3 separate regions of the Homo sapiens genome follow, and all the other regions are linked to region 1. The links are contacts of gene promoters, found by promoter capture Hi-C in blood cells and fetal thymus (Javierre and others, 2016). All regions are on one chromosome and are shown on one strand. Each heading gives the region's core, a stretch centred on a gene start or on the middle of the fragment in contact. The rest is flanking DNA. Distances are from core to core; before and after follow the strand shown. Region 1 holds the start of EPS8L3 (EPS8 signaling adaptor L3). Region 2 overlaps SYPL2 (synaptophysin like 2). Region 3 overlaps STRIP1 (striatin interacting protein 1).

The links. Contacts are between HindIII fragments. The CHiCAGO score rates a contact against its expected background, and 5 or more counts as called.
Region 2: a contact is called between a fragment that was not itself captured here and the fragment with the promoter of EPS8L3 in region 1, in 1 of 17 cell types (M2 macrophages). The highest score is 6.7, in M2 macrophages.
Region 3: a fragment that was not itself captured here is called in contact with the fragment with the promoter of EPS8L3 in region 1 in 2 of 17 cell types (M0 macrophages and M1 macrophages); the score reaches 5.4 in M0 macrophages.

Annotation. Positions count from the first base shown.
Region 1 is chr1:109,761,980-109,766,267 of GRCh38, forward strand. EPS8L3 (EPS8 signaling adaptor L3) reads right to left here and starts at 1,944. Exons shown (of 19, transcript NM_133181.4): 1 at 1,843-1,944. All of the region lies in intron 1 of LOC124904258 (a long non-coding RNA gene), which reads left to right. The HindIII fragment of the contact is 2,750 bases long and covers 845-3,594 here.
Region 2 is chr1:109,468,946-109,473,233 of GRCh38, forward strand. All of the region lies in intron 2 of SYPL2 (synaptophysin like 2), which reads left to right. Among named protein-coding and RNA genes, the nearest start is that of SYPL2, 4.5 kb to the left of the region's middle. The HindIII fragment of the contact is 2,812 bases long and covers 296-3,107 here.
Region 3 is chr1:110,053,536-110,057,823 of GRCh38, forward strand. It overlaps STRIP1 (striatin interacting protein 1), which reads left to right. Exons shown (of 21, transcript NM_033088.4): 21 at 130-1,106. The coding sequence ends at 377. Among named protein-coding and RNA genes, the nearest start is that of ALX3, 15 kb to the right of the region's middle. The HindIII fragment of the contact is 2,143 bases long and covers 960-3,102 here.

The DNA.
Region 1 (4,288 bases), core at 694-3,193:
GGGCTGAGGGAAGGGAGGGTCAGGGAGGCCACAGCATGGCTGGGCCTCAGGGAAGGCTCCAGGCCTCCCATGGTTTGGCTGATAAAGCTCATGCCAAGGAGCCCAGGAAACCTGGATGGACAGGGACCTGCGTTCAGATCCTATCTTGGGCCTGGGTATGAAAGATGCTGGATGAGCAGAGGGTTCTGTAGCCGACCCCGCCAGAGGAGGCCCTCTTGTTCGACCCTGTTTCAGTTCTGCAAACTGAGAGGACGCTGATGCTGGCTCTTCAGCTGTAGACCCTCTGGGAAGACTGCATGCATGTGTGTGTGTACTTATGGTGGCACTGCAGGACTCGCCAGTGAGCTGACCTCCCCCAAGTGTCTCCCTAGGCCTCCTGGCTCTTTGCTTTTTGTACTCTGTATCCTCTGCCCAGGTCCCCTCCTGACCCCAACCCTTTAAATTCTAGCTCAAAGATCACCCTCTTGGTGAAGCCCTCCTGGACCATCCAACCCCACCCTGCCCAGGGTACCCTCCTAATGCTGCACTGGACCTTGTACATTTATCTCCAGCAACAATAGTCACAATAGCCACCACGGTGCTGTGAGCCTGGTGCTGAGCCCCTTACCAACATCCTATCAGTTTCTCCTCACTGCCGTCCACTTGTACTTACTTGGCGCCACGTGCCTAGCACTGTTCTAACGGCGTTACCTTCAGTCACTCTAATCCTCAAAACAACCTCACAAGGCAGGTACTGGTATTGTCCCCATTTACCATATGAGGACTCTGAGGCTCAAAGACGGTAACAGGCCTGAGGTCACAAATGAACGTTTAATAGAGAGCAACCCAGATCTGTCCGATTGCAAGCTTCGTGTTTTAATGGTTTATAAACATGCCTCTGCCGCTGGGCTGTGCGCAGTCACAGAGGGAGTCTAGAGAACATACATGTTGAAATGGAGTGGAATTAAATGTGGTGTGTGTGTCCCGGGTGGGGGTGGTGTTAGTCTGTGCGGGTCAAGGGTATGTGTTATCCAAATGAGGTTTGTGGGTATCCACATGTCTACATGGTACACCTCAGTTGTGCAGAAATACTGGACTACCCCGGGTAACATGTGAGAGAGCAACCCATACCCTTGTTTATTAGGACTGTTGTGAAAATGACGTAGGATCTGATAAGATGACTCAGTGTGGAAGGAAATAAACTGCCAGTGAACAATTAAGGGAATGTGGAAGGGACGGCTGGATCTCTGGTTTCCTTGTTTGGGAGGACCCCTTTTCTCTCCAGGGGTAAGGCGGGGCTAGAAGCCTGTTCCCCTTCCCCAGCCTCCCCCAACCCCCATTGTAACACTTCCTGCTTCTCCATGCTCTCCATGCAGAAGAGGAAGTGAGGTCTGCCCCTGGTCAGCCCCACTCCCCACTCCCTCAACACCAGGGTGGGCCCTGTGGGGCCCTCTAGGTAGGTAGGTCAAGGTGGGGAAACAGCTGCAGCCAAAGATTCCCTACCCCAGGGAGGGAAGAGGGAGCTGGCTTGGCCTGCCTTGCCCCTTAGGGGTAGGGGAGCTGTGACAGCCCATTTCCCCCCTTTAAGCCCTAGATGTAGGGGTTTGGAGCAGGGAAGGCCATCACCTCATAGACCCTGGGGCAAGCATCCCAGAGGCCCTTCCGGAGCCTGGACCTCGCTCTGCTTTCCAGCCCACCAGCCAGCTGCTGAGTCCCAAGCCCCTCCTTGGGCTTGATCCCCTGGGCTGCAGCTGGGAACAGGCTGGAGACCTGGCCTGGGAAGCCACTGAGTTGCCCCCACCTGCCCTGAGATCCCCTGTGACTGGGCTGGGCCCCGATCTTCCCTGGGGGCCAGGCCCTTACCTGGGTGCCAGTGAAGGCCGGGTGCCTGGTCCCCCCAGGAGGCTGGTCTTGGAGCAGGTGGTCCGGTGCTGGTGGTGGAAGGACAGCAGCTTCTCTGCTAGTGGCCACAGGCAGAGCCTGCCTTTGATGAGGTTACAGAGGCAGCCACGCCTGTGCTCTTTGGACTCTGGTGGGTGGGGAGGCTTCCTGGTCACTAACCGCTCAACATCAACCTGGACCTGCGGCAGTGTCTGTGCTGACTGGCGTCCCCAGCTTAGCTAGAGGCCCCTGCTTCCCTGTTTCCCCCACTGCTAGCCTTGGGGTGTGGCCCCCTCTTCCCTCTGCCTTTTAGGTGCCTACTCTGGGGAACAGGTCAGCATCAGGCACGGGGCTGGGACCAGAAGAAGAGAGCACACATGGCCCAGAGTCTGGGTTCTGTGGTGAGGGCACAGGTCGGCTGGAGGTGGACTCCAGGCTTGGGGGAAGCTGTGGGCTGGCGTGTGTGCCATGCCTGTGCGTGGGTGGCACCCATAGGTGTGTGATCCTGTGTACCTGGGTGGTGCCTGTGAGCAGGACATGGATCTTGTCACAGAAGATGGGGACTGAGGCCCCTGGGGCATTACATGGAGCGCTGAGATTCCCTCTGGCAGGGCCCTCATTCTGTCCCTACTGTTGTCCCTTCCAGCAGGAGCCCCCTTACCAGCCCTTTCTCGCTCTTCCACTCTCTTTCCTTCTGTACCCCATCTTGTGCCCAGACCCCTGGTGGACGCCTGGCCAGCTTCAGCAAAGATGGAAAACGGAGGCCTGCATCTATCTCTAGTCATAAACCTACCCACTTCCTGCACTCCATGGTATCGAAAAATCTTTCTTGGCACTCAGAGTGGGCCAGGCTCCCCTGCCCTCTGGGAACTCACAGTCTAACCAACAAGGCCAGGTATAAACAGAAACCAGGGAGCAGGGCAGGAGGGGAGGCGGGGGCGGGGGAGTGCCAGTGAGCCTCGGACCCTCGTGGGCAGAATGCAGGGTCCCGGTGCTGGGCCCTGTGATGGAGTGTCCTGTGGAGTCTGAGGGCTGGAGCACTCCCATCTTTAGCTTCCCTGGAACTATCCCAGGATATCTCAGCCTTCTCTCCCATCACCACCCAACCAACGCTGCCCTGGATGGCCTGGAGTCCATGCGTCAGATCCTAGGGAGGTGCCTTCCCTGTCTGGGCTGTGTGTGTCCCTGGGAGAGTCCAGTGGACAGCCAGCTGCTGGGGCCCAGGGATCAGGTGCCTGTGAGGCCAGCACCCAGCCACAGCCCCATGGGAAGCAGTCCTGGGGTTCTTTCCCCTGGGTCCCCATCTTGTGGCCCTTCAGCTTCTTTTGGGATAGCACAGCCTGTCCCCTCGTTGCCTCCCCCAACTCCGTGAAGGCCACAGTCATATTTCACCCCAGCCCTGGCTTGGGGCTCAGGCAACACCTCATTTCTGCCCAGCTCAGGCCAGGCCCGTCCTTCCCATAGGACCCTCCCCAAGTCAGTGTGAGCACAGCAGGGACTCCTGGGGGGGCTCTGGGGCAAGGTGGGCAGGGGCAGAGAAACAATGAGTGGCATTCCCAGCACCTTGCCCTCTGCAGTGCCCTTTAGGGGTGCCCCTGGGAGCAGTGTGTGTCTCCTCAGACATAAAGCCTTTGTGGCCTTGGTGGGTCTGGGGCTTGGGGCCAGGTATTGGGGACATCTGCTTCTGTGGAGCCCCCTGAGGGAAGAGGGAAATCAGGAAAGAGGGAGAGGCCAAGCTTCCCATACCTGGGGACTTGGGGCCATAACTGAAGCTTCTGCACAAAGCTCCGGGTGCCACAGCAGCTCTTCTGCAAGGGAGTTCGGCTGAGGCACCAGGAGCTGGGACTTAGGTTGGAGGGGAAGGAAGCAGGACTCGAAGGGCATGTCCTTGAAATTGTGGGGTTAAAAGGCTGTGGGACCACATTCGTTCATTCATTCCACAACTTCCTGTAGAATTGAGGGCTTCCTGCCTGCTAGGCACTGTGAGAGGTGCTAGGATCCCTCTGGAGGGCTTACAGACACCTTGGAATTCAAGCTGAGTTCATTATTTCTCAGCAAACCATCTCCCCTCTCATGCTCCCATCTCAGGGAAGGCATCAGCTCCCAATCGTGTGTTCCAGCAGGGAGGGGAGTCCTCCCTCAATCCTCACACCCAATGGACTACCCTTCCTGCAGTCCCAGCTCTGTGGCAAGTCCTAAGTGGCCCCCTTCCTCTCCACCCCACTGCGACTGTCTTCCTCAGACCCCATTACACCTCCTGTCTTCGACCCTGCGGCCGTCTCCTCACCCACGCCCTCGCTTCACTCTTGTTCTCATTGATCCTTACTGGTTGCTGGTAGGGAAGCTTTCTTAGCTGGAGATTTGATTGTCCACTCCTCTGCCTAAAACCCCTCAGTGACTTCCCGCTGCTCACGGGACAAAACCTAAA
Region 2 (4,288 bases), core at 452-2,951, 290 kb before region 1:
AGACCCTTTTCTCTCAGAATGCTAAAACCTGGGCCCTGGGCTAGACTCTGAATTCAGATTTCATTCACAGGGTAGCATCACAAAGAAACGTGCTTTGCTTTTATTGCCATCCCAGGTAGCCTGAATTCAGGGCGCCAGTTTCACTTGCTTTGAAGCTCTGCAGATGAGGTAACATAAAAAGTAAACAGGCATTAGCACCAGAAATGACAGTGGAAATGTCATTTGAGTTTTTCACTCATTTCCTGTTTGGAGGGATCAAATGCTCCTGATTGGAGAAGGAAAAAAGAAAACACAAAGCTTGCAGTTATTGTAATGGTAATTGAGAACTTTTGTTGTCATTATTACCAAAAAGCAAAGATTTTACTGGAATCTTTGTGAAAAGAAAGTAATGTTATTCTTTTATTTGTCAGGAGCTTATCTTAGAGTTTTTTTTTTTTTAATTGAGAAATCAACTAATCTCACCTCAATTCCAATTCTGGAGTCTCACTAAGTCTATACTAAGCTAGCAAAAATAACCTGGACATAGACCAATTATTGGAGAACTAGTTTTTTTTTAAAAAAGAAAAGGACATCAAATCATAGGAGTTCAAGATAAAAAAGAAAAGAAAAGAAGTATCTTAAAAAAAATTTTCTTTTTAAGAAAAAGACACACTTTGGGAGGCTGAGGTGGGAGGATTGCTTGAGCCCAGGAGTTTGACACAAGCCTGGGCAATAAGGGGAGGTCGCGTCTCTATTAAAAAATAAAATTAGTTGGGTGTGATGACACATGCTTGTGGTCCCAGCTCCTTGGGAGGCTGAGGCTGGAGGATCATTGAGCCCAGGAGGTCGAGGCTGCAATGAGCTGCGCACTCCAGCCTGAGTGACAGAACTAGACCTTGTCTCAAAAAAAAAAAAAAAAAAAAAAAAAGGAAAATAAAACAAAAGAAAAAGGAAGATAGAGACAGATTTTTGAGGTCAGATAGGCTTCGGTTTAAATTGAGTCCCCTCTGCTTTCTTGCTTTCTAGCTCTGGAACCTTGAGTGAGTAAATATCAAATCTTTTTTTTTTTTCAGACAGGCTCTAAGATAGAGACTGGCTCTATCGCTGAGGCTGGAGTGCAGTGGTACGAACACATCTCACTGCAGCCTAAATTTCCAAGCTCAGGCAATCCTCCCACCTCAGCCTTTCAAGTATCTGGGACCAAAGGCACATGCCACCATGCCTAGCTAAGTTGTAAAAAATTTTTGTAAAAATCGGGTCTTGCTATGCTGCCCCAGCTGGCTTTGAGTTCCTGGGCTCAGGTGATATTCCCACCTCAGCCTCCAAAAGTGCTGAGATTACAGGCATGAGCCTGTTACCTCGCCTAAACAAAACAAAAAACAATGAGATAAGCGTGGGAGTAGGACCTGGGGAGAGAATTTGTCTTCCTTGTGCTCTGAGCTAACTGGTGATGTTAGTGTCCTCAGGACTGTCACAGGATTATCACCAGCGAGCATGTCAGTGCCAAAGGGGAGCCTCATCCTTAAACTGGAAAGGTTTAAGGTTGCAAAAGAGATGCAGAAGCAAGAGGAGGCGGAGGGCAGAAAATGACCGTCGCTGTCCCAGCAATGGAGGTCCAAGAGGAGAAAGGCTGGTTGGCACCAGAATGCTAGAACTCCCCCTTGTCTCAGGTCCTCTACCTCTCCTTGGCTGCTCTTTATAACCAGTTTGCTCATCTCAGAGCCTTGTGCTTGGTGACAGGGGTGATTTTAGTTCTTTCCTTCTCTTCTCTGTGTCTCAGTCACTTGGCAAAGTTAGGGAAGAAAGCAAATCTGGAGTGGAAAGATGGAGGGTTAGGAGACATGGAGGGGGTTGGGAGAAAGTGTCTTTCTGAGCTTCTGCACCCCAAGGCACAGAGCTACTCCTTCCCTCCTTGTAATCCTCAATGCACATGGTAGAGATCTCTTCTTTAGCCTCAATAACTCTGGGATGCAGTGTTTGTTTTTATTATTTTTTGTTTGTTTGTTTTGCTATGACGCTCCTTTCTTGATGTGAATTCTCAAGAGCAGGAGATAGGTGTTATTCGTCTTCATATCTCCAGCACCTGGCACAAGGTAGATGCTCAATCAGTGTTGAGTTAATGAGCAAATGAAATGGAAAGAGCACTGGACAGGGAATCAGGAGATGTGAATTCTAAGCCTGGCTCTCACATTAACTAAATGTGACTTTGGGAAAGTGACTTAATCTTTTGGGGCTTCACAGTCCCCCTCTGTGACATGAGATGATTGGGTGTGAGAATCTTTGAGGTCCCTTTTGTTCTGCTGTTCTGTGAACCTGTGATTCCCCTCAGATGTTCTCATTTTGCTCTGGTACCATCCGACTGTATAGTGTTCAGATTTAAACATATATTTTGGTAAATAAAAAATCATCGTGTAAGATCCCTGACTTGAAAAGAATCAGAATACAATAAATACTAAAGTTATTGTGGGTGTATTTTGCCCTCTGAGGAATCCGAAAGCATGATTCAGGATTGTCAGAACCTCAGGACCGTCGTTTAGACACAGCAGAACTTTTGGTAATAATGGAAAAGTTTTAGAATCGGTGCTCTCTAAGATAGTACCTGCTAGTCACATGAGGCTATTGGGCACTTGAAATGTGCCTAGCGTGACTGAACTGAATTTTTTTTTTTTTAGTAGAGACGGCATTTTGCCATGTTGGCCAGGCTGGTCTCGAACCCCTGACCTCAAGTGATTTGCCCGCCTTGGCCTCCTAAAGTGCTGGGATTACAGGCATGAGCCACCACACCCGGCCTGAACTTTTTTGTTGTTGTTTGATCCAGTCTCACTCTGTCATCCAGGCTGGAGTGCAGTGGCGTGATCATAGCTCATTGCAGCCTTGAACCCCTGGGCTCAAGTGATCCACACACTTCAGCAGCTGGGACTACAGGCATGTACCACCATGCCCGACTACTTTTTTTTTTTGGTAGAGATGGAGTCTTGCTATGATACCCAGGCTGGTCTTGAACTCCTGGCCTCAAGTGATCCTCCCACCTTGCTTCCCAAAGTGTTGGGATTACAGGTCTGAGACACTGCACCCGGCTTGAATTTTTTATTTAATTTAATTCTGATTAACTTAAACTTAAATAATCAAGCTTGGCTAGGGGCTACTGTTTTGGATAGTGCAGCTCTAGAGTATGAGCCCCATGAGGACAGAGATTTTGTTATTCTTTTTCTTTTTTTGAGATAGGGTCTCGCTCTGTCACCCAGGCTGGTGTCCAGTGGTGTGATCATGTAGCTTTGACCTCCTGGGCTCAAGAGATCTTCCCACATCAGCCCCCAGAGTAGCTGGGACCACAGATGTGCATCACCACACCTGGCTAATTTTTCTTGGCTAAATAAAAAGTTGGCTAGTCTCAAACTCCTGGGCTCAAGTGATCCTCCCACCTCAGCCTCCCAGAGTGCTGGGATTACAGGCATGAACCACCATGCTTGGCCTTTTTTCTCTTTTGTTCACTACTAGATAATAGTGCCTGGAACCATGCATAGTAGGCACTGTACATGCTAGGCATAGTACATGCTCTTAAATTTTATCTTTCTGTAGATGCTCAGGAGTGCCTTTCAGGAGAGTGCTGGTGAAGAGAAGGCTCCATAACTGACCGTTCACTGCCCCCAAGTTTTGAGTACCTACTTTCTTTTTCTTTACTTTTTTTTTTTTTTTTTTTTTTTGAGATGGGGGTCTTGTTCTGTTGCCCAGCCTGGAGTGCAGTGGCATGATCATAGCTCACTGCAGCCTTGAACTCCTGGGCTCAAGTGATTCCTCCCCATCAGCCTCCTGAGTAACTGGGACTATTAGCAGGCACCACCATGCCCAGCTAATTTTTTGTTTGTAGTTTCTGTAGGGGAGGGTCTTGCTATGTTGCCTATATGTTGCTAGTCTCAAATTCCTGGGCTCAAGCCATTCTCCTGCTTGGCCTCCCAAACTGCTGGGATTACAGCTGTGAGCCACCATGCCCGGCCCCTGCTTTCTTAAGGAACCTATAAGGAGCCATTCACTGACTAACTGCCAACGGGTAAAAATATTTCCAACTGTGCTGCCCTTCCCAGAATGTGACACCCTAATCACATCCAGTTCTGGGCACCAGAAGCTAAGAGGAATAAAGAAACTTCTAAGAGGAATCAGATGGCCACAGAACTGACAAAAGATTAGCGAATTCCTATGAGGAAGAGTTAGAGAAGTTCCACTATTACAATGGTGAGGCCACTTTGAGTAAGTAAAGGGTAATGATGCAGAGGCTTCGAGTGACTCTTCTCTACCTCTGTGAAGAAGGCGG
Region 3 (4,288 bases), core at 781-3,280, 290 kb after region 1:
GCATCTTTCTGAGGATGAGCTCGGAGGTATCCTGCTCTTAGTTGACACTCAATATTCCTGGCCAGTGAATCCATGGGGAGCTGCTACAGGGCATGGCTCCTAACGGTGTTTCTTCCTGCTTTGTCTCAGATCTTGATGCCCGGCCTTGGGACTTCCAGGCAGAGGAGTGTGCCCTTCGTGCCAACATTGAACGCTTCAACGCCCGGCGCTATGACCGGGCCCACAGCAACCCTGACTTCCTGCCAGTGGACAACTGCCTGCAGAGTGTCCTGGGCCAACGGGTGGACCTCCCTGAGGACTTTCAGATGAACTATGACCTCTGGTTAGAAAGGGAGGTCTTCTCCAAGCCCATTTCCTGGGAAGAGCTGCTGCAGTGAGGCTGTTGGTTAGGGGACTGAAATGGAGAGAAAAGATGATCTGAAGGTACCTGTGGGACTGTCCTAGTTCATTGCTGCAGTGCTCCCATCCCCCACCAGGTGGCAGCACAGCCCCACTGTGTCTTCCGCAGTCTGTCCTGGGCTTGGGTGAGCCCAGCTTGACCTCCCCTTGGTTCCCAGGGTCCTGCTCCGAAGCAGTCATCTCTGCCTGAGATCCATTCTTCCTTTACTTCCCCCACCCTCCTCTCTTGGATATGGTTGGTTTTGGCTCATTTCACAATCAGCCCAAGGCTGGGAAAGCTGGAATGGGATGGGAACCCCTCCGCCGTGCATCTGAATTTCAGGGGTCATGCTGATGCCTCTCGAGACATACAAATCCTTGCTTTGTCAGCTTGCAAAGGAGGAGAGTTTAGGATTAGGGCCAGGGCCAGAAAGTCGGTATCTTGGTTGTGCTCTGGGGTGGGGGTGGGGTGTTTCTGATGTTATTCCAGCCTCCTGCTACATTATATCCAGAAGTAATTGCGGAGGCTCCTTCAGCTGCCTCAGCACTTTGATTTTGGACAGGGACAAGGTAGGAAGAGAAGCTTCCCTTAACCAGAGGGGCCATTTTTCCTTTTGGCTTTCGAGGGCCTGTAAATATCTATATATAATTCTGTGTGTATTCTGTGTCATGTTGGGGTTTTTAATGTGATTGTGTATTCTGTTTACATTAAAAAGAAGCAAAAATAATTCCCGTTGGCTTGTCTACAGGAAATATGGCCTCTACGTATCTCCTCCAGGTCTAGAAAGTGGTTTTTTCTGCTAGCATTGCTGGTCAACGCTTGTCCTTGTCAAGCTGCCTGCCTTTCCCATCCTGGGGGAAGAGGAGAGAGAGTTGGCATTTATCCAGTGTAAGTTAACCCCACAGTAATCTGGGATTGCTCTAGCCCAACTCCAGGGCACTAGGTTACTTTACTGACACATTGTCCTGCACCCCTGGGTTTGCTGTAATTTCAGTAGGAGCCCCAGGTTTCTCTGGATCACATCACTGAGCTGGCCTCAGCCAAACCAGTGTCAGTGCTATGGAGGGAGGGGCTAGGTCAAAGCAAGGGGGTCTGCTGCTCTAGGTCCTCCCTGGGGCAGGTGGTTGGGACTGAGGGGAAACTTCAGTACTCAGAGCCTAGGAAGCAGACCATCAGGAGTCAGGTTCACGGTGGGAAAAAGTGTTGGAGGGCCCAGGAGCCCCCTGTGGCTGAGAGAAAAGCAAGGAAAATCTTTGTAGTAGGTGTCAGTGGACACCTGGCGCCTCCACTTTGGCCTCCAGACCCCTGGTTTCATCTGCCTGAGAAGATATTAGTGTTTTGATGCTGGTGAAAGGAGTGTTTCCTTTTTAGAATTCCTGGAAGCTCTTATTTTACCTGTAGGCAGTTGTTTTGTAGGTTGTTAAATCTCCAAGGGGTCTTGACTTGTAAAGGAAACATGTTCTGGGGAGCATCTCCCCTTCTTTGGGTCTTGTGTTCATGCCTGCCTGGCCTGGGACCTGCTGAGCCTCAGGACAGGCCTTTTGATGTGCCAGCATGGTTAGGGACAGCAGGGGTGGAAGGCAGCAGTGTACTCCTGATGGTCACACAGCTGTGAGATGGGAAGTCCCATCTGTGACTGATGGGCCCTGTGCCCCAAAGTAACTTGTACAGGACAAGGGAATTGACACAATTTATGTGTGGATGATGGATTTTCTGCTATTTCTTTCCAGGACTGACAGGAAATATGTATCTTGAGATTTCAATTAGGGAGAGATGGATTTTTCACATTCTTACTCTCCCATGAAGCCTGAGTCACTGAAACTGCGTGGTCGAGGCCTGTCTCTCCTCTGACCTGCAAAAGAGAATGCAGGACTATCAAAGCTGCAAGGGCCATAAAGCCTGGGCAGGCAAATCCTTTCAGCTGTAGGCCCAGGAGCCAGCCTGGGGAGAGGAAGGGGCTTCTCACAGCCACAGAGTGTATTAGTGGCAGGTTGGCCATTTGAACTCAGGTCTTTGTACAGAAATGTCTTTTGGAGCCACACAGTTTTTGTGGCTTTTTAAATCTCATATGGGTCATGAAATGGGCAGAGTACATGAAGACCCTTTGTACTTTGATTGAGTTACATAAAATGTTGTTTATTGCTAAGCAGGGTCAGGGTCCACTGCTCCTTCAATCCACCGAGGGACAGATTACCCTGAGGCAGTATCACTCTAAGGATGGGAGCTGTCCCTTGTTAATCGTAAGAGTTACCACTTATGGGTTGCCAAGTAGGTACCAGGCACAATATTAGATGCTTCTCAAAGCCTTATTTTCTACAAAGCCAGCAAATGCTGAGTACTTACAATGTGCCAGCCAGCGTTCTAACCACTTGATGTATAATATCTTACATATTCCTTGTGATATCCTGAAAGATACATGCCATTTTAATCCCTATTTTGCACAGGAGAAAACTGTGGCACAGAAAGGATAAAGAACTTGCCCAAGGTCATATAAAGGCAAGAGCCAGGATTCAAATCCAGGCCTCTGTCTCAGCGCACGCATTTTTTTCACTCCCTCACACCCTTTGCTATTAGTCATTGTCATACCCCAGCACTTACCACCAGTGCCTTCATTTGCTCATTTATTCACCACAGCCAACACTTCACATTTGCTCTAGCATCGTCCCCGGCATGAAAGATTCATGGTAAATGTCCATTGCTTTAGGTCCTAACTGGACCACCTAAGCTTAGCCTTAGCCTAGCCTCTGATGTTCCCTGAATATGCCCTCCTCAGGGTAACTTGGCTGTTGCTGCCGTCTTTTTTTCTTTTCAGCCTGAGCCTAAATTTTTTTCTCTTCTGGGTCCCAGAGGACTCTTGTGTTGGCTGCCCCTTCTATACCTGTTAGGCTCATTTCCCAGGAGGCTGGCTTCCGTCTGTCCTCAAAGAGCTGACTTCTCAGAGGAGAATAGTTGTTACATTCATTTGGCACTTGGCACAGTCAGCCTCAGGCTGCTGGCTATAAAACAAGGGAGGAGCACCCTTTGGGAGTGAGACAGCCCTGACTTTCAATTCGGGCTCTGACATTTACTCACTGAGGGACCTTGAGCTAGTCAATTTCCAAGGCTCAGTTGACTCATCTGTAAAAATTGGTTTAATAATAGCCGTATTGCATGGGCTGAGTAAGATTGTGGAAATGAACCTACATGTCTGGCTGACAAGGGATGACAATAAATGGTAGCAGTTCTTAGTCTTGGCAATGGCCCCTCAAACTCTAATGTTCTATGAATTTGTACCCATTTCCTATGTCCCCTAGAAGACAGAAATCCCTTTCAAGGACCAGAACCATGTCTTAGGCCTCCTTAAAGCCCCTGGACCTAGCTGGCTGCTGTGAATCCAGAGGCATCTCAGAAGAGTCAGCTACTCGTCCAGCAACCTGCCATCACACCTTGAAGGCCTGTTGGGGCCAGGCCCTGTGGTAGATGCCCTGGATATCCAGGTTACTAGGATACCACACTCTCTCACTTCTCTCGAGCTCGCAGTTGATGGAGACACAGCCATAAGAGCAAGTAAAAGCAATAGCATGATAGGTAACAGACGTCTGAAGGGCTTACCACAGGTCCCACTGGTCCCAGCCTCTTAGTATTGGAGGAGAGATTGCTGGGGGAGCCAGCAGTCGCTAAGTGGGAAGGAAGGGGGCTCCAGCATCAGAATCAAGGGCTCTGACAGCTGACGCTTGATGCTCACCACCTTCCAGGTGAAATGCCTGGGATGAGCCTGTGGAGGAGGCTGGGGCAGGGGAAGTCTTTCCTCTGCTGGATAAAGGAAATGTTAGGGTCTTCCCAGTTCCTGGCCATGCTAGACTCTTCCCATCTGGAGCTGCAGAGGGTCTGCACTTTGGGGTTGTAATTCAGGTTGAAGTGTAAATGGGA